Regions from separate parts of the Homo sapiens genome. Here regions 2, 3, 4, 5 and 6 are each linked to region 1. The links are contacts of gene promoters, found by promoter capture Hi-C in blood cells and fetal thymus (Javierre and others, 2016). All regions are on one chromosome and are shown on one strand. The core of a region is centred on a gene start or on the middle of the fragment in contact, and the rest is flanking DNA. Distances in the headings are between cores, read along the strand shown.

Region 1 (3,219 bases), core at 307-2,806:
TTTTTTAATTTTTAGTAGAGACAGGGTTTCACCATGTTGACCAGGCTGGTCTCGAACTCCTGACCTGAAGTGATCCACCCACCTTAGCCTCCCAAAGTGCTGGGATTACAGGCGTGAGCCACCGCGTCCTGCCTGTTATTACTTTTTTACATAAGTGGCTATTCTGTTTTAGCCTCTTGAACAACATGCAGCTTTTACTAGGAGTGTGTCTGGCATTTGAATTAGAAAGGAAGATATTAGTATTCATTGAGGGCTTACAATACATCAGGTGCTTCATAGTCACAAATTCATTGAACCCTCACAACAACCCTCTATAAAGTAGCTCCTAGTGTTCCCATATAATAGATGAGGAAAACTGAGACTTGGCCACATCCCCATAGTTACAAACCATTAAGAAGGATTAGCAGCCAGGTCTACTATGAATCCGGAGGCCCCATTCTCTTCTGCTACCAGTTATCACCTCCTTCTACAGTTTCTCTTTGCCTTGGTTTTTCAGTTCCCTTCGATTCAAGTAACAAGAGGAAATATATAAGAAGGAAAGGAGGAAGATGGCTTTGGGAGGAGGAGAGGGAAGAGAGTGAAGCAATCTTTAATTTTGAAAACAGGGAAAACAAATATTTAGAAAGTAAAACCGATTTCCATCCTTTACATGCCATTATACATCCTATACAAAACTCTGGAAATCTGCCTATTGAGGTAATTACGGAGCACTACCTAATGTGTTTCAAGGGAAAGCTCCCCTGTTTGGGCTATGCAGGATTTACAGGGAGTTTAAATCATTAAATAACCATAGTTGACCCTTGCTTGGTTAAGAGAGTAAGCAATTATTGCAAAGTCCTCTTCCCTGCCTTCCACAAACAGCACAAAAACGGTTCTGAAGGGATTTACACAATACATCAACATCTGTGCTGTACCTAGAGTTGTTAAAATAATTGTGATGACAGGTGTCTAGGTACCACTTTCTTAATGGTTTTCAATATCCATTGATTTATTGTTTTGTGGCTTTCTCTTCCCCTTTACAGCTTTGGCTTTAAGAAAGAGCTGGGGAACAGATTTTGCACCAGAGGCTGATTCTTTATTCCAATGCTGAAAAGAACTAATAAAAATAATCACTTGGCTTTTAAGCAGAAAGCTTCCATTTACAGTATTTCACCCTTACCCCGCCCCGTTCCAAGCCCCTTGTTATCTAACATAATGGTTAGAATACATTTCCGTCTCTCCCCTTAATAATTTCATGCATTAACATCCTCTTCACACACTATACACACACGCACGCGCGCACACACACGCGCGCGCACACACACAGCAAAAGGAAAAAAGAGGCAGCAGAAATCTCAGCTGTACTTCTAGCCCTTTTAAAAAGTTTGCTCTGTAAATTGGAATGAGGTCAGATTTGGAGCTTCTCATTGCACGCGGAGATTATTATTGCATCGGGTTCCAAGCCAATGGGAAGCCCGGGGGAGGGGTTTGGCATGAGGAAGCGTTGGTTACAGCAGCTGATTGGCTGCAGCCAAGACTGTGAAAGGATAAAGAGGCGCGAGGCGGAATTGGGGTCTGCTCTAAGCTGCAGCAAGAGAAACTGTGTGTGAGGGGAAGAGGCCTGTTTCGCTGTCGGGTCTCTAGTTCTTGCACGCTCTTTAAGAGTCTGCACTGGAGGAACTCCTGCCATTACCAGCTCCCTTCTTGCAGAAGGGAGGGGGAAACATACATTTATTCATGCCAGTCTGTTGCATGCAGGCTTTTTGGCTTCCTACCTTGCAACAAAATAATTGCACCAACTCCTTAGTGCCGATTCCGCCCACAGAGAGTCCTGGAGCCACAGTCTTTTTTGCTTTGCATTGTAGGAGAGGGACTAAGTGCTAGAGACTATGTCGCTTTCCTGAGCTACCGAGAGCGCTCGTGAACTGGAATCAACTGCTTCAGGGAAAAAGAAAAAAAAAAAAAAAAGACTTGCCTGGGAGGCCGCGAGAAACTTGCATTGGAAGCTTCAGCAACCAGCATTCGAGAAACTCCTCTCTACTTTAGCACGGTCTCCAGACTCAGCCGAGAGACAGCAAACTGCAGCGCGGTGAGAGAGCGAGAGAGAGGGAGAGAGAGACTCTCCAGCCTGGGAACTATAACTCCTCTGCGAGAGGCGGAGAACTCCTTCCCCAAATCTTTTGGGGACTTTTCTCTCTTTACCCACCTCCGCCCCTGCGAGGAGTTGAGGGGCCAGTTCGGCCGCCGCGCGCGTCTTCCCGTTCGGCGTGTGCTTGGCCCGGGGAACCGGGAGGGCCCGGCGATCGCGCGGCGGCCGCCGCGAGGGTGTGAGCGCGCGTGGGCGCCCGCCGAGCCGAGGCCATGGTGCAGCAAACCAACAATGCCGAGAACACGGAAGCGCTGCTGGCCGGCGAGAGCTCGGACTCGGGCGCCGGCCTCGAGCTGGGAATCGCCTCCTCCCCCACGCCCGGCTCCACCGCCTCCACGGGCGGCAAGGCCGACGACCCGAGCTGGTGCAAGACCCCGAGTGGGCACATCAAGCGACCCATGAACGCCTTCATGGTGTGGTCGCAGATCGAGCGGCGCAAGATCATGGAGCAGTCGCCCGACATGCACAACGCCGAGATCTCCAAGCGGCTGGGCAAACGCTGGAAGCTGCTCAAAGACAGCGACAAGATCCCTTTCATTCGAGAGGCGGAGCGGCTGCGCCTCAAGCACATGGCTGACTACCCCGACTACAAGTACCGGCCCAGGAAGAAGGTGAAGTCCGGCAACGCCAACTCCAGCTCCTCGGCCGCCGCCTCCTCCAAGCCGGGGGAGAAGGGAGACAAGGTCGGTGGCAGTGGCGGGGGCGGCCATGGGGGCGGCGGCGGCGGCGGGAGCAGCAACGCGGGGGGAGGAGGCGGCGGTGCGAGTGGCGGCGGCGCCAACTCCAAACCGGCGCAGAAAAAGAGCTGCGGCTCCAAAGTGGCGGGCGGCGCGGGCGGTGGGGTTAGCAAACCGCACGCCAAGCTCATCCTGGCAGGCGGCGGCGGCGGCGGGAAAGCAGCGGCTGCCGCCGCCGCCTCCTTCGCCGCCGAACAGGCGGGGGCCGCCGCCCTGCTGCCCCTGGGCGCCGCCGCCGACCACCACTCGCTGTACAAGGCGCGGACTCCCAGCGCCTCGGCCTCCGCCTCCTCGGCAGCCTCGGCCTCCGCAGCGCTCGCGGCCCCGGGCAAGCACCTGGCGGAGAAGAAGGTG
Region 2 (3,219 bases), core at 366-2,865, 2.9 Mb after region 1:
TAGCCCCATCTACTCGGGAGGCTGAGGCAGGAGAATCGCTTGAACCCGGGAGGCGGAAGTTGCAGGGAGCTGAAATCGCACCACTGCACTCCACCCTGGGTGACAGAATGAGTCTGTCGGTCTCACAAGAACAAAACAAACAAAAAACAAAAACCACCACCAAAAACAAAACAAAACAAAAACAAAAACTCCCTCCGCAGGCAGGAGATGTAAACACGCCAGCTCCCCAGCCCCACCTGTGATACCTACTGGCCCACATCCCTATTAGGACTCCCTGGTTCTCCCCAGTTCCTGCAATAAAATACAGAGCAAAATAGTGTGAAATTGATTAAACTCTACTGTTATCACTTCTGCCATATGTGACTGGCTCAAAACTCAATGGATCTGACTCAGCAAAAGACAAAGTCAAAATTTAAAGTTACTGCCTCGGCATTTTGCAAATGTCCTAGAAAAAAATTCAACGTCCTAGAAAAAGGTGAAAGCTAGCAAGATACTCTCAACGCTGTAGGAGTTGAGAAAGGGAGATATGTAACCTAAAATCAATGCATAGGGCTGGGCTTCATTTGCACCCACAAATTCCCAGCATACGCCTGCTATTTTTATTTTTATCCTCATTAGGTTTTAAGCTTCCCTGCTGCTTTCAGAGTCTTAAGCCCAAGTCTAATTTTTTAACGGATGAAGAATGCTGTTTAAAGGTGCTCAAATACCTTGGTTGGATAGTATGCTCAATCCTTATACCTTGGTTGATTCAATTTTGACAAATGCTTCCATTTACTAGTTGGTGACCCAACTTTAATCTTACTAGTGGCTTGACTAGGGTAGCTAGTATGACTTTGAACGCTATATTGAATTTAATGTGGCAACTGTAATGAGCATTTTACGTTATCTCACAACAAAATGGGGTAGATATGGTTCTATTTTATAAGTGACTGGACTAAGGTTAACCTGTCGGTCACACAGCTTGTCGGCAACAGACTTGAGTTTGGATCCTAGTCTGTTTATTTCCAAAGCGCTGTTATTTATCGGGAGCAACCCTAGGAGAATGCCTAGACACACACCCAAAAAAGCAGCCAGGCAGCAGAACGCGGGGTCACACTTCGACCCCTCAGAGAACGATCGCTCCCAATCAATACTACGTGCTCAGGAGCTACAACTGAAGAAGCGTGATCACGGCCTTGGCATTTAGGGCAGGCACCAGCGCATCTATGGACCGCGCACAAATTCCGGGGATGCCGAATTTGGGGGATGCTAAGGGGAGAGAGTGGGTCTCTAGCAGCGATTGGGGGCTCAGGAGCAGTTAGTGACAAATGAGCACCCGAAAAGTGAAAAGGTGACAGCAGTCCGCAGGTGCATCTACTGGCGAGCCTTCTCCATCCCCGAACCCAACCCTCCCCCGGGAGAAGGTCGCGCCAGGAGAGAAGCCGCGCGGCGCTTAGGGCAAGGTGCAGAGGGCGGCGCGGCGGTGCAGCGAGAAAGACGCGGAGAGAGGGCGCTGCTCTGTGGCTCTGCAACCTTCCGCCAGCTCCCACGCTTTCCCCGCGCGTCCCCGGCGCCTCCTCGCTCCTCTTGCTTCCCCGCGACCCCTGCGTTCCCGTGCGCGCGCGCCCGCTTGCCTGTTTCCTGTCGCCGTCGTTGCCCGGGCCATGGCGACCTGCATTTGGCTGCGGAGCTGTGGGGCCCGGCGCCTCGGGTCGACGTTTCCAGGCTGCCGCCTCCGCCCCCGCGCCGGCGGCCTGGTCCCTGCCTCCGGGCCTGCGCCCGGCCCGGCCCAGCTCCGCTGCTACGCTGGGCGCCTGGCGGGCCTCTCTGCGGCGCTGCTGCGCACCGACAGCTTCGTGGGCGGCCGCTGGCTCCCGGCCGCCGCCACCTTCCCCGTGCAAGACCCGGCCAGCGGCGCCGCTCTGGGCATGGTAGCCGACTGCGGGGTGCGAGAGGCCCGCGCCGCCGTGCGCGCTGCCTACGAGGCTTTCTGCCGCTGGAGGGAGGTCTCCGCCAAGGTGAGAGAGCCCGGATGCAGGGGGCCAGAGCTGGCCGGGGACACGGCGGGGAGCAGAGGGGGCTTTACCCCAAAGTGACACCAGCCGCGTCGCCTCCCTCCTGTGCTCAGTTCCCCAGGGTATACAAAGTGGAAAGTCAGAGCAACAAGGGAGACGACCGACAAATAAGTTTGGAGCTTCCACTTTGAGCCGGGCACTAGGGACACGACCCCTGCCCTCAAGCCTCATCAAGTTATGCACTGCCCAGTAGGGGAGGCAGAACGTGAGCGCCTAATACAAGCGAGCTGCTTGTTATGGTCAACAAGCCTAACCGTGGAGGGGCGGGGAGAAAGGGGAGGGGTGTCAGGGAAGTGAGAGCACGTGTGGCCCTTCAGAGTAGCTGAAATATCTCCGCAGCTGCAGGGAGCCCACGCAGGAGGCTGCTTCAGCGGCCCTTGAGAAGGCTGGTAGTGAGGGCCCCTGGCCAGAATCATGGGATCGGAAACGGAGAGAACTGTAGAAAGATTTGGGTTTTGTGCAGGGGAAGAGAGAAATCCAGGAGCGTTCTCCAGGTTTTCACCCTAAATGGATAAATGCTGCTATTGGCCATTGCATAGAGAACACTGGAGAATTGGGAGTAAGGGGTGGAGGGCCATTAAATGGGAAGAATAGAGTAAGAAGAAAACTAAGAAAGTAGTTTCTTCCTTCTAATATTATATTATTAAACCTGGAGTCAACGCAGTGAAATTTTTTACCGTGTCCTTCAAAGCTCTCCCTCTGAAGGAATGCATCCAGCGATCCCTACGAGTACAAGAGAGTCTTAGCACTCATTCATCCATCAGCTGTTTACTGAGCACCTGCTGTATGCCCTGCACTGTTGGAGGTGCTTGGGATACCTCAGTTAAACGAAAGAAGGATTCTGCCCTTATGGAGCTCACATGGGGTGGAAGGGGAGCAGAAGAGAGATCAGAACTCTAAACAACAAACATAATATCTAAGCAAATAAGTATGTGAGAGATGCTGAGTGCAATATGGAAAAAAGGTAGAAGCAGGAGAGGATCCGGGCCAGAGGGAAGGGGCAAGATGCAGCATCAACAGTGTGACCAGGCATATTCCTCTGCTAGGGCTGCCATAGCAAAGTACCACAGACTGGGTGGCCTGAACAACAGACATTTCTCATTTTACCGCTCTGGAGGGTAGAAATCCCAGATCGAGGTGTTGTCAGAGTTGGTTTCTTCTAAGG
Region 3 (3,219 bases), core at 433-2,932, 2.8 Mb after region 1:
TAGAACATATGCCCACATTTTAGCAGAACTCAGACTCCTTCCATAATCCTAATCTTGGGCCTTTCACTAGTCTCATGAAGGTGGTTTCAGCCCCGAAACAAGCAGGAAGGGGGTAGTTTTAGGGTAGGACTATTATCCTTGCTTCAAAGTTAAGCTATAAACCAAATTCCTCCATGGTTAGTTTGGCCTATACCTAAGAACAACCAAGGACAGCTTGGAGGTCAGAAGCAAGATGGAGTCAACTACATCAGATATCTCTTACTGTGATAATCTTTGCAAAGTGGTTTCACAGGTCCCTTTTCCTGTTACTCTATTAAAGCTGCTCCTATGAAGATCACCAATAAGTTCCATAGTGTCATGTCCAATATAGACAATTCTCATTTCTTATTTTACCCATCAGAAAATTTTGACATAACTTATCACTTCTTCATTCATGCAACAGTAGGGACCAAGAGAAACTTCCCCTTCAGCCACTGAAAGTTTGCTAAAAAAATCAACCCACAAAAGGCAGATTGATTGGAGACAAGGCAAATTGTATAAATGTGTACACAGGGAGAATCACAGGGTGATTACACAACCTCCAACAGGGTTAAGAAGCTTATATACCACCCTGGCAAAATAGGCTATGGGAGGGAGTAGAAGAGGAATTCTATTGAGGGGATTACTAGGGAGAATGAATGGATCAGGGAACAGAGATGAACATGAACATTACCCTGTCAAAGGGTGTGTTCAAGCATGGTTACATTCTTGGTTTTTCAGGGAGGAGAAGAGACAGTTGTTTCTTTTAATGGGTCTGGATCTTAGGTTAAAAAAAAACGTTAACTTCATCTTTGGAAGACTCAGTTGGCAGGGGGTGGTGCCAGCGAGACCTTGAGGCTTCTTCAGTTTAACATGTCAAAACATATTTTGGGGTAGCAGTTTCTGAACCCCAACTAAATAACTTTCTTTACTTGGCTTCTAGGATTCCACCCTCTGATTCTATTTCTTTCTTTGTCACTCCTCATACTCTTCTGCTGGATCTATCTCATCTTCTTAACAATTCAATATGAGAGGATCTAGAGCTCAATTGTATGATGACTTTTTCTCTGACTCACTTCTTGGGAGACTTTTTTTTTTTTTTGAGATGGAGTTTTGCTTTCCCCCAGGCTGGAGTGAAGTGGGGCAATCTTGGCCCACTGCAACCTCTGCCCCCCGGGTTCAAGCGATTCTCCTGCCTCAGCCTCCCGAGTAGCCAGGATTATAGGCGCCTGCCACCATACCCCAATAATTTTTATATTTTTAGTAGAGACGGGGTTTCGCCACGTTAGCCAGGCTGGTTTCAAACTCCAGACCTCAGGTGATCCACCAGCCTCGGACTCCCAAAGTGCTAGGATTACAGGGGTGAACCACTGTGCTCGGCCTTCTTGGGAGATCTCTTCCAATCTTGTGGCTTTAAATATTCTATACAGTCTCAAATGTAACTATCTATCTCCAACACCTTCCCTGAATTCCAGGCTGCTTACTTGACATCTACACTCAGATATCTGTCTAGGACATCTCTCGAAGTTAACATTCAAAACCAAATGCCATGCCATAGTTTTTGTTGTTCTTGTTTTTGTTGTTGTTCTTGTTGTTGTTGTTGAGACGGGAGTTTCACTCTTGTTGCCCAGGCTGGAGTGCAATAGTGCGATCTTGGCTCACCGCACCCTCCACCTCCGGGTTCAAGTGATTCTCCTGCCTCGGCCCCCTCAGTAGCTGGGATTACAGACATGCACCGCCACAGCCAGCTAATTTCGTATTTTTAGTAGAGATGGGGTTTCTCCACGTTGGTCAGGCTGGTCTCGATCTCCCAACCTCAGGTGATCCGCACACCTTGGCTTCCCAAAGTGCTGGGATTACAGGTTTGAGCCACAGTTTTCAATTAAAAACTTCTCCTTTCTGGCCAGGCATGGTGGCTCACGCCTGTAATCCCAGCACTTTGGGAGGCCAATGCGGGTGGATCACAAGGTCAGGAGATCGAGACCATCCTGGCTAACACGGTGAAACCCCATCTCTGCTAAAAATACAAAAAATTAGCTGGGCGTGGTGTCAGGCGCCTGTAGTCCCAGCTACTTGGGAGGCTGAGGCAGGAGAATGGCGTGAACCCGGGAGGCGGAGCTTGCAGTGAGCAGAGATCACACCACTGCACTCCAGTCTGGGCGACAGAGCGAGACTTCGTCACAAAAAACAAAACAAACAAAAAAAAAACTGCTCCTTTCCAAAATTCCCTATCTCAGTAAATAGCACCAGCAAGGCCCTGCTGTTCGGGATACACATTTTGGAGCAACATCTATGCCTCTCTTTCTCTTATATCCCATCTGCAAATGTTGTCAACTCAGCCTTCAATATATGGTACCAAGCCCAACTCATCTTCCCCTCTCCACCATCCCCACCTTAGCCCAAACCATCATCACCATCTCTCTGCTTCCAATTGCCTCTCTGTAGTCTCTTTCCCACACAGCAAGAGTGACCCATTTAAACATAAATCAGATTGTTACCTCTGCTCATTACCTCTCTGCTCGAAGTCCTCCAATGGTTCCCACCCTTCTCAGAAAAATCTTTGCCACGAATTACGAGGCTGTACGTCTGGACAGGTTCCAGAGTTTTCCTTAGACTTTGCAAAAGTTATCTTAGAGCTGTCTCATTGTGCTGGGTGCAAATTTTGTTTTAAAGAGAAAGTTATCACATATTTTCTCAAAGAAGCATCTCTGAAGGCATGTAATATGTTTGAAATACTTATCTCATCATTAAAGCTTTAGTAAAATGAAAAATCTACCAGCCATGTTCTCTATACTCAGCGATTTTCCAGACTTCAACGCCCTGGAAGCAATGATTAAAGTTTTTCTTTGCCTTCAATTATCTGAAGGGTTGGGCTGCCCCTCCACACCTGTGGGCATTTCTCATCAGGTAGAATGAGAGACTTGGAAAAGAAAGAGACACACAGACAAAGTATAGAGAAAGAAAAATGGGCCCGGGGGACTGGCGCTCAGCATACAGAGGACCCGCGCCGGCACCGGCCTCTGAGTTCCCCTAGTATTTATTGATCATTATCAGGTGTTTCCTGGAGAGGGGGATGTGGCAGGACAATAGGATGATAGTGGAGAGAAGGTCAGCAGGTAAACACGTGAACAAATGTCTCTGCATCATAAACAAGGTAAAGAAAAAAGTGCTGTGCTTTTGATGTGCATATACATAAACATC
Region 4 (3,219 bases), core at 468-2,967, 2.7 Mb after region 1:
CAGAGTCAGACTCTGTCTCAAAAGAAACAAACAAACATACAAAAAGTGCGTGAAACTACTGCTCAATGGAACCCAACTTAGGAAATGACAGTAAACGCCCTGGGTAAGAGCCTTCAGCTTAACACCATCCAGAAGCTCTTGTCGCCCAGGTTGGAATACAGTGGTGCAATCTCAGCTCACTGCAACCCCTGCCTCCTGGGTTCAAGCAATTCTCATGCCTTAGCCTCCCAAGTAGCTGAGACTACAGGCATGCGACACTATGCCCGGCTAATTTTTGTATTTTTAGTAGAGACAGGGTTTCACCATGCTGGCCAGGCTGGTCTTGAACCCCCGACCTCAGGTGATCCACCCATCTCGGCCTCCCAAAGTGCTGGGATTACAGGCATGAGCCACTGTGCCAGGCCACTTTATTATGTAATTTTAAAGGAAATAAAATCTTGCCCAGTTTCAAAGAAACAATTTGGTATTATCATCCAATTGTATAAAATAAGAATAAATGGGTAGCTTTAAACCTACAAAGCTCAAAGGTATTTTACAGATATTTTATCTTTATCTCCACTGTGATAGCACACTGCATGGTGATTTGCAATAAAGGTTATATCTTATTTTGAAAATAACTAGGGCAATAGAGAAGAATAAAAATAGAGTTCATATACAAAATAGGCCACAGACTACAAAGGAGTCCCAGGGTATCACATAAGTGAGGAAATACTCCTTCCCTGTCTCATAGTGCCAAGCAGTATTTAGTAATTGTCCCAGACATTGGACTAAATACATTTAAGTAGAAATGGCCTATGTTCTTTAGTAGTGTGCTGGTACTTTCTATAAGGACAAAATTAATACAGAGGTCTAAGAAATGACTCAATACCCAGAAGGAAAAAATGTCAATGCTTGCAACATAATTTGGCATTTAGGGATAGTGAATAAAGTCTGGTCATTGAAAGGGAAAAGGTAAATTGCATCTACTTAACCAAGGAAAATTTATTGATAAAGATATAATTATGACTATTGGAAGAAAATGTGTAAGTACTGAGCAATTAGAACAAAGAAGAGAAAATGAAATACTCTGGTGATTAGCAAGGGGTGGAGTACATGGTAGGGACTCAATAAATGTTCACTGAAAAATGAAAGTAGTGACCTAGGAAAGGGGATGGGGTTCCTAAGTCTAGAAAGTCATGAAACATGGGGAAGGAAATTCAGACACAGAGAAAGGCTTGGGTTGCAGAGCTTAAGTCCTAGAATGTTTAAGTAACTGTTTTAAAAAAGGGGATTTGATCATTTGATACAGAAACTAGAGGTCAGCCCCCAAAATATCTACCTTCTTCAAGGTCCCTAAACCCTAGAAAAGAGGGTCTAAATGCTGAAGGCAGTCCCCAGCTAAGATGTGTCAAAATAGAGAAGACCCATTATTACATCAGACTGCTAAAGAGAAAAACGGCTTGTTAGTAATGACTAACTCCGACCACCTAGAAAATAGAAGGGATGAAAATCAATCATCCCCATTTAAAAAGTTAATATGAAATAGTGGAGAGTAGAAGAAGAAACAAACAGGAACTCCCCAAAATCTCCCAGCTAAGCTTCAGGGTCTGCTGTGATACATCAACATTTTTATCACTGAAGGAAGACAGGTCAAAACACACACACGAGAGCTTCCCTCACTTGTCCCTCCACCTCCCCTTTCAAACAGTCACACAGGCACATCCACCTCTTAACCAGCAGCTATGTGTCAGTCTGGCAATTTCCAGAAATCACTAACCATTGATAGATCTTTGACTCTGGGCAAACTGGTTTCTCCTCTTTTCCCCCTCATTCACTAAGCTAGGAAAATGCTGTTTATCCATTCTAAGTATTTGTAAATGAAGCTTACAAAATATCAGATTAGAATGCACCATCAAGATGTTCTAAAGCATGGGTATCAGGAGTGTGCCATTACTCAATGCTTACAGTTTGCAGCCTTTAATTTCAATTGTCACCATAATATAGGTATAATTGACCTACATGCACACACACACATATATATCAACAAATACTGACCCTGTGCTGACTACTCTGTGCGGAATGCTCTGAACATTTATCTGTGTCCTTTACATGTGACCTATGGTCCAGGATCTGCTGATATTCTAAAGGACCGGGCCCTTTCCAGGTTTTATATCACCCCAGGCCTGACAAGGAAAACAGGGAGTTGAAGAGGGAGAAAGGGTAATAAACCCTATGGCTACATCTTCCTCCTCCCTCCACCCTGTCACCCTCTATGATAGGCATCTCACCAACATTCATGACATCAGACACCTCCCTAACCAAGCCCCCATGTGGCCCTTCCTCAGATTCCAGGATGAAATGCTCAGAGTGACCCAATTTCAGCTTCTTTCAGAAAAGCAGATAAATCATGCTTCAGTCTTTGGTATGCCAGAAACTCACCACTGGGGCGGATGCATATTTTATCTGTAGTAAGCTACAGAAAGGTTCAGACCTGGCAGGGCACAGTGGCTTACACCTGTAATCCCAGCACATTGGGAGGCCAAGGCAGGCAGATCACTTGAGCTTAGGAGTTTGAGACCAGCCTGGGCAACATGGTGAAACCCCGTCTCTATAAAAATACAAAAATTAGCCTTGTGTGGTGGCACCTGCCTGTAGTCCCAGCTACGTGGGAGGATCACTTGAGCCCAGGAGGTCAAGGCTGCAGTGAGCCAAGATGGTGCCACTGTACTCCAGCCTGGGTGACAGAGTGAGACACTCCCTCAAAAAAAAAAAAAAAAAAGAGAGAGAGAGAGAGAAAGAAAGAAAAAAAAGAAAAAAAGAGAAAGGTTCAACCTGACCTTGCAGGCAGCAGAATTAAGAAAAGGCTGTGAAACTTGTCAGAGCCCCTGGTAAGGCAAGAAGCAAAGAGGCCCTGCTTAGAAGTAATGGGTAGCATCTATGAAAAGGGAGGCAGGCAAGCCAAACTCTGGAGCTGGGGAAGAAATAAAGATGTGACAATCCCAAACTAATCCTCCTGCAGAGGATCACGCTAATAGAAGAACCTCCGCCCACACCTCAGTGTCCCCACCCGAGTAACTCCAGGTCTGGCTCCTCCAGCTCTGCATTCCTCTCAGACCCAAACCCAGATGGATCCCTGACCTGGAGGCTCTGGCCTACACCAGTAATTCAACAGAGGGCAGTTCTGCATCCTACGACAGCAGGGTAACATGAGTTCTTGGCATTCTAAAGTGGAGCTCCTCA
Region 5 (3,219 bases), core at 223-2,722, 2.6 Mb after region 1:
GTAATGAGGTAGAGAGGAAGGGCAGGTTCACATGTAATAACACTTCCTTATGAAAGGGTATTAGCCAACTCTCCTGGGATCCCTGTCACAACTTATATAATACCCCTCTTTGCATCACCTTTCTGGATTAAATATAAAAAAATCATCATAAGGAAGACTGAAAAACTAATCAAATGAGAGCTAATGTTCTGAGTGCCTCTAATTGAATACAATGATACAACCCAAATGTCCAAATTTTTTTAATCACTAATCTTCTCCACATGTCTTATTATGTCCCATCAGCTCAAATGGAAGCTCTTTACAGAAACAAGAATATCACAAGTCATATTTTTCTCTGGCAATTTTTAATAACACATAAAAATAATTTTATCCGCACATTTATATGGGCTAAGTATTCTTAACTGTAGTTTGAAATATTTGGCTTCTTTCTATTCTCCAACTCCCATTTCAGGGTATTAAATCTCATCTGTTATGCAATTGATGTATACATTTGACTATTAACTGTTTGCATAGAATTGATTTTAATCACCACAGTTATTTAACCTTAACTTTAAATAGGTGTAGCAAAATATTCTAAGTGTAGACAGAAAACAAAAGTAGGATTATTATCATTGATTTCCCAGATCACAGGTAATTTTGTTCTTATTCCTACACTTCTGTTATTTTTAGATACAGATATTTCAGATTCTCATGAAAATCAGAAATATTCAGAGTACAAAGAATAAAGCACATTATTTACAATATGTATAATAATGCTTATTTCCTAACCTATATAAATTATGATACAATTTCTAAAGTCTATATCTGATAAGTGGGACTGAAAATAATTAAGTACCTCTGAGTAGGTTTACCTAAACCAACAAGTGTATATATAGCTTTAATTCTTCATTTCTAATTTTGCATCCTTATAAAAATTACACTGCAAATTAGTTTTAGTTCATCAGAATAATTGAATTGTTCCTTTTTCCACCCCAGTGACTTGCAGTTACTTATTTGGCCTAAAATTGACAATTTCTCTTCTTAATTCTGGTTAGTCCAACTTCCTCCAAATGACCTTGTATCAGAAGAGTTAGCCATACTTCTATACGCTAGATTTATCATCATAACAAATGAAGTATCTGCCTGTAACAAAAACACATAGTACTGTTTTAAATTCCTTTAAAATTCTGTGTTCACTACTTCCTTATTATGCAATGTTTACTGAGCTTCCTCATGCTCCCACATGTGCTAGACACCAGCCACAGAAAGATGAACAAGGCACTGACCTCAGGATACGTATTATCTACCGGGGGGTCACATGGAAAAATCAACTGCACAGAATACGCATAGCATGCAAGTCTATGTAAGCTGTTAAGACAGTGCATAAAGTAGGAAAGAAAAAAAATGGGGAGAGGAGAACAAAGAAGGCTGTGAGAGACGGAAGCTACAAATCAAAAGACAAGACAAATTAGTCATTAAGGAGCAAAGGAAGGCACTCTGGACAGAAGAATCAGCATATGCAAAGGCTTGGAGGCATTGCAGGTTGTATTCCAAGAACTGCAGGCAGATCCGTGTGGCTGCAGCAAGGCTGTAGGGATAAGGAGTGGCTGGGTATAAGGCTGTCTGATGTGACCAAGAATTTGAACTTGATCATGAAGATAATGAAGAGCAACTAAGGGACTTTAAGCATGGAGTGGGGTGCATGGGGCTGAGGGAGCGTCCTGGAAACAGAGTTGCCTGGACAGAAGCAGGTGAAGATTCATGACAGGCTGTGTGGAGGGGGAGATCATGGAAAGTGTTATCACCCACAGCCACCTAGGACTGATATTGCTGAGGTGGAGATATCATGGCAGAGTGAGACCAGGCAAGACTGTAGAAAAGAATGCCTGAAACTGGGTCAGACTGAAGCCACCAAAGGCAATACATATTAAAATTGGAGATCAGTGAGGCTGGTAGCCAGGAGATTTCAAAGCAATGAAATGGGAAACAAAGCATGCCATGATGGGTCAGGACGCTCCGAAGCATAGGAGTCTGCATCAGCACCACTCCCGGCTGAGGGGGCGGCACTGCTTGGTGGAATCTCAGCACTGCTCTGCACACCGCAGGTCCTGGATGAAGGCAATGCCAGGATTAACAGAATGCAACAAGAGACATTGAATACTTGTATTGGCAGGACTCCGTGACTGCCAGGATGTGAGAGTTGAGGGAAACAGAAGAGCTGAAGAAGGACTCTCAGGTTTATGGCTTGGTTGTCTACATCGTTAACAGTGTTATTCATCAAGACTGGCCAGACGACAGAAGGAAGGGGATGGGGGTGGTTAGAAAGGAGGTGATGGGGTCTGATTTTGATATATTGGTTTGGGCCTCCTGTTAAGCATACTGATAGAAATGTCCAGCAAGTGGCTAGAAATGTAAGTCTGTTAATTAGAATAAAGTTCCAAGATAAAGATGTAGACTTGGGAACAGTCAGAATACCATTGATAAAGTCATGGGTTTCAGAACTTGGGGTGAAAATAGAAAATGGTTAGGGACAGAGTTCTAGGAAACAACATTTAAGGGATGGGCAGAAGAGAAACTCACAAAGATCGAAAAGAAATAGTAAAAGGTAACAGGAAAAAAAAAAGAGTAGGCTGTCAAGGAAGATGCGGGAAAGTGGAAGTCAACACCAAAGGAATAATCAGTATTAAAGTGTCCCGCCATTTGGGGATCCCCTTGATCTGGTCACCTAAGTAACAGTAATTATAGTACAGTATGAAAATCAGATTACACGGGGTTGTGGTATAAGAAAAGAGGTGAATTAGTGAAGACAAGCAGTACAGACGACTCTTTCAAGATGATTGGCTGTGAAGTAAAGAGAGACCATAGTCTTGTCAACCTAATTCAGAGGCCTGAGGCCATCAAGACAGTCAGGGATGAAAGGGGATTAAATCCCATCTCTTCTGACTCCTGCCTTTATCACAGATGTCAGCACCATAAAGCTTTTGCTAAACCTCTGTCTCTAATGCACAAGCATGTCTCATGAAATGCAAACATTTGTACAGAAATTTAAACAATTCCCATTCACTCATGGCCAAGTTAAACCGATAGAGATCATCTTCATTTGACAATATCAATGTAACCAGAATTGTACTTCATGAATATACCATTCTTGCTATGCAGATATTTATTAGAGTTTGAACCTTAGCTAAAATACCAAAACAAGTTACAACATAGAAATCCATTGCAGGAGGTCAGGGGCTG
Region 6 (3,219 bases), core at 302-2,801, 2.6 Mb after region 1:
ACATGCATGCTAGATGGTACCAGGAGAGGCTATCAAGGACTATGGAAGGTCTGAAGCTGCACTCTGCTAGCAAGAGACAAGTTAGCATGCCACAGTTTCATGGGTGCTGGCAGGAAACATGAGACCAATGAGTCAGTGACAAAGGACTTTATTGCTCACGCAATAGCAGTAGCCAAAATAGCATTTGCACCCAAGACCCAATTCCCACAATGAGAAGGGGGCTAGTTATGCACACATTAGTTTGCATTTTAGGAGAAGAACCTCAAGCTTAGGGAACCCAAACTCTTTTTTTCAAATATTGTTATTATAGTAAAATACATATTACATAAAATTTACCATTTTAACCACTCTTAAGTGTACAAATCAATGGGATTAAATCTTTCACAATGGGAAGTAAACTTGCCTGACCTTTGCACCATAGGGAGACATTGTCTTTATCATACTGGACAATAAAGAAACCCAGCCTTTGTCCCAGAACAGAGTTTCCCAATCTCAGCTCTACTGACATTCTGGGCTGCAGAATTTTTTGTTGTGAAGACTGTCATGTGCATTACAAGATAATTAGGAGCAGCCCTGGCCACCACCTTCTAGATGCCCATAGCACTCCCCCAGTTGTTACACCAAAAGTGGTCCCAGAAATCACCATATATCCCTTTGGAGGCAAAATCACCACAAGTTGAGAATGATTGTTCTGGAAGACATCACTCTCTCTGTCTTCCAAGGCCATTCACTATACAAACATACCTAAAGAGATGGTCCAGAACAAAGGCCAGCAGTGCCTCTGCTCACAAGATGGGCAGAATCACAACAGACCCATGGAGAATTGCCTCCCAATGAAAGCAAAGACTTCTAAAACTTAATCTGCTTCTCAAGAATGGATAAATAACTTGGCCAATTTGCACAAGATACTTACATATAGACATATACACACACACAGGCACATACAACTTCCTTCTTCAAGGCCCTCTGACTAAAATTACAACACAGATCATTTAGATGACAGGAAAACAGTCCAAAGACATTAACTAGCTAATGGCCTTAGAGAGAGTGTATTTAAGTATCTTTTCTAGCTAAGACAAGTAGTATACCATGACTATATTTCCTTTCTTAATTAGGATTTTTTTTTTCCTTTCTGGGTTAATAATTGGCTTTTTTTTTTTATGCAATACTCTCTCCTCAGATCACTTGTCTGCCTTTAAGTTGGATAGACAGCATTTAAGTCCCATTTCCTCTAATTAACATGGTACAGCCTTGAGCAAATAATTTCACCTCATGAGCTCACTTCCTTTGTGTATTTATAGATAGGTAGATAGATAAGTAGGTAGATAGAATAAGACTGATAAGACTTATCCAGTTTCTTTTTTGAGACAGAGTCTCGCTGTGTCACCCACACTACAGTGAGGTGGCATGATCTCTGCTCACTGCAACCTCCGCCTCCCAGATTCCAGCAGTTCTCATGCCTCAGCCTCCCGATTATCTGGAATTACAGGTGCCTGTCACCACACCTGGTTAATTTTTTGTATTTTCAGTAGAGACCAGGTTTCACCGTGTTGGCCAGGCTGGTCTCGAACACTCCTGACTTTAGGTGATCCAGACCACCTCAGCCTCCCAGAATGCTGGGATTACAGGCATGAGCTACCACACCCAGCTCCAATAAGACCTATCTGACAGGGTTGTTTTCATAATTAAACGAAAGAAATAAAAATCCTTAGTCCAGTGCCTGGCACTCAGTAGTTACTTAATCAATGGTAGCTATTGTTTAATGCAGATCACCATTGTGGGCTGTTGCAGAGTTGGTCTTACTATAATGAAACTAATGGGCTTTCAACGAATTTCTCCACACTTTTAGTTTTCCATATTTATAATATAGCTGCTTAGGATGTAAACGTCAGCAGACCATAGAGAATGGCTGTAACCTGACTTCATAAGCACCTCGTATCGAACAAATAAACTAGGCAATCCCAATGTTATGACCAAGAGAGTCCAAGAAGAAAGTACCTTTGGTTACCTGGCTTTGGTTTCTTCAAGCACATACCAATTTGTTGATATTGCCCAGCTTTTACCAATCTGTTTCTCAGTATCTCCTGCATACCTGCATTTTGATAAGCTAGCACTCACAAGTTAAATAAGAAATCAAGCCCTGCAGATGCATCCAAGGCTGTTCGAGCATTATCAGAGATCAATTTTCCCTCCCAACTCCCCTTCCTGAGGATCATCGAATGTCAAAGTAAAGAAATATCTCACAGATTTGCAAGTTGTTAAATAAGTGATTAACAGAGAGATTTCTCCTTTGCTAATAAGGCTATGATTTTCTCTTAATATTTGACATTTTGACTTTGGAATATAAATTAGTCTTGGTTTCTGCAGCTATCAGGTGTTGTATATACATGATGATCACTCTTCTTTGTCTTAAAATATACTATTTAATTATGGCTTCACAGAAGACTTAAAGTTTCACTTTCCCTCAGGAAAAAATACCTATAACTGGAGTTTATGAAAAATTATTAGTTATAGCTAATCCTGGATAATAAATTGGATTTTTGAAATCTGCGTGATTTTTACCACGTTAGGCTTTTCATCAGGAAGACGACACTTGCAGAAAATGCCTGTGGAATCATCAAGCAGCAATTTCACTGCTGCACTGTTAAGACAAATACAATTGAGAAGATCATCTATGGAATTTGTCAGATGGTGAAATCTGCTTTTAGAAAAAAAATATCATATAGTAGTCAGAGGACAAGTGGTAGTTCCTAGTGACTTCTCCCCTTTCCTGAGTCTGGGATTATCATTTCCCCCTCCTCACCTAAACTCCAATCCTCCACTTAGAATTGTAAGGAAGCTTGATGTATTATATTAAAAAGCATAGCTGACTTTTATTTCTTCCATCATTTAGAGAAAATTAACACTACTTAGTCCATTCTATAAGCACATGTGAGTACGTATATACTCACACACACACACAACTCCTAGAAGTACAGTGTTCTACTGGCCTAAGAAAGAAAATCAATACACACAAAGCAAATATTTGACTTACATTTATACAGGCAATTCCTTTATGAAAAACAAATTCCAACCAAAACAATCTCAAGGACCCTAAAGGCAAGAATATACTGGCATTTTAAAAAAATGCTTTTCTGAAGATGGCCAAATAGGAACAGCTCTGGTTTGCAGCTCCCAGTGAGATCAACACAGAAGGCCAGTGATTTCTGCATTCCCAAC

The links. The method cuts DNA at HindIII sites, captures the fragments that hold promoters and counts their contacts. A CHiCAGO score of 5 or more calls a contact.
Region 2: a contact is called between the fragment with the promoter of ALDH5A1 here and the fragment with the promoter of SOX4 in region 1, in 1 of 17 cell types (M0 macrophages). The highest score is 5.3, in M0 macrophages.
Region 3: a fragment that was not itself captured here is called in contact with the fragment with the promoter of SOX4 in region 1 in 1 of 17 cell types (M0 macrophages); the score reaches 5.1 in M0 macrophages.
Region 4: a contact is called between a fragment that was not itself captured here and the fragment with the promoter of SOX4 in region 1, in 1 of 17 cell types (M0 macrophages). The highest score is 5.2, in M0 macrophages.
Region 5: a fragment that was not itself captured here is called in contact with the fragment with the promoter of SOX4 in region 1 in 1 of 17 cell types (M0 macrophages); the score reaches 6.4 in M0 macrophages.
Region 6: a contact is called between a fragment that was not itself captured here and the fragment with the promoter of SOX4 in region 1, in 1 of 17 cell types (M0 macrophages). The highest score is 6.6, in M0 macrophages.

The regions. Positions count from the first base shown.
Region 1 is chr6:21,592,195-21,595,413 of GRCh38, forward strand. SOX4 (SRY-box transcription factor 4) reads left to right here and starts at 1,557. Exons shown (of 1, transcript NM_003107.3): 1 at 1,557-3,219. The coding sequence starts at 2,341. RefSeq lists silencers at 2,168-2,347, 3,118-3,207. The HindIII fragment of the contact is 853 bases long and covers 1,131-1,983 here.
Region 2 is chr6:24,493,354-24,496,572 of GRCh38, forward strand. It overlaps ALDH5A1 (aldehyde dehydrogenase 5 family member A1), which reads left to right and starts at 1,616. Exons shown (of 10, transcript NM_001080.3): 1 at 1,616-1,997. The coding sequence starts at 1,644. It also overlaps a transcript of GPLD1 not described here. RefSeq lists a silencer at 1,622-2,011. The HindIII fragment of the contact is 3,166 bases long and covers 625-3,219 here.
Region 3 is chr6:24,397,168-24,400,386 of GRCh38, forward strand. No RefSeq gene overlaps it. Among named protein-coding and RNA genes, the nearest start is that of MRS2, 4.2 kb to the right of the region's middle. RefSeq lists an enhancer at 2,726-3,219 and a silencer at 3,174-3,219. The HindIII fragment of the contact is 2,174 bases long and covers 596-2,769 here.
Region 4 is chr6:24,268,468-24,271,686 of GRCh38, forward strand. The region is part of intron 7 of DCDC2 (doublecortin domain containing 2); the gene reads right to left. Among named protein-coding and RNA genes, the nearest start is that of KAAG1, 87 kb to the right of the region's middle. The HindIII fragment of the contact is 285 bases long and covers 1,576-1,860 here.
Region 5 is chr6:24,213,737-24,216,955 of GRCh38, forward strand. The region is part of intron 7 of DCDC2 (doublecortin domain containing 2); the gene reads right to left. Among named protein-coding and RNA genes, the nearest start is that of NRSN1, 89 kb to the left of the region's middle. The HindIII fragment of the contact is 2,965 bases long and covers 1-2,955 here.
Region 6 is chr6:24,195,075-24,198,293 of GRCh38, forward strand. The region is part of intron 8 of DCDC2 (doublecortin domain containing 2); the gene reads right to left. Among named protein-coding and RNA genes, the nearest start is that of NRSN1, 70 kb to the left of the region's middle. The HindIII fragment of the contact is 2,572 bases long and covers 266-2,837 here.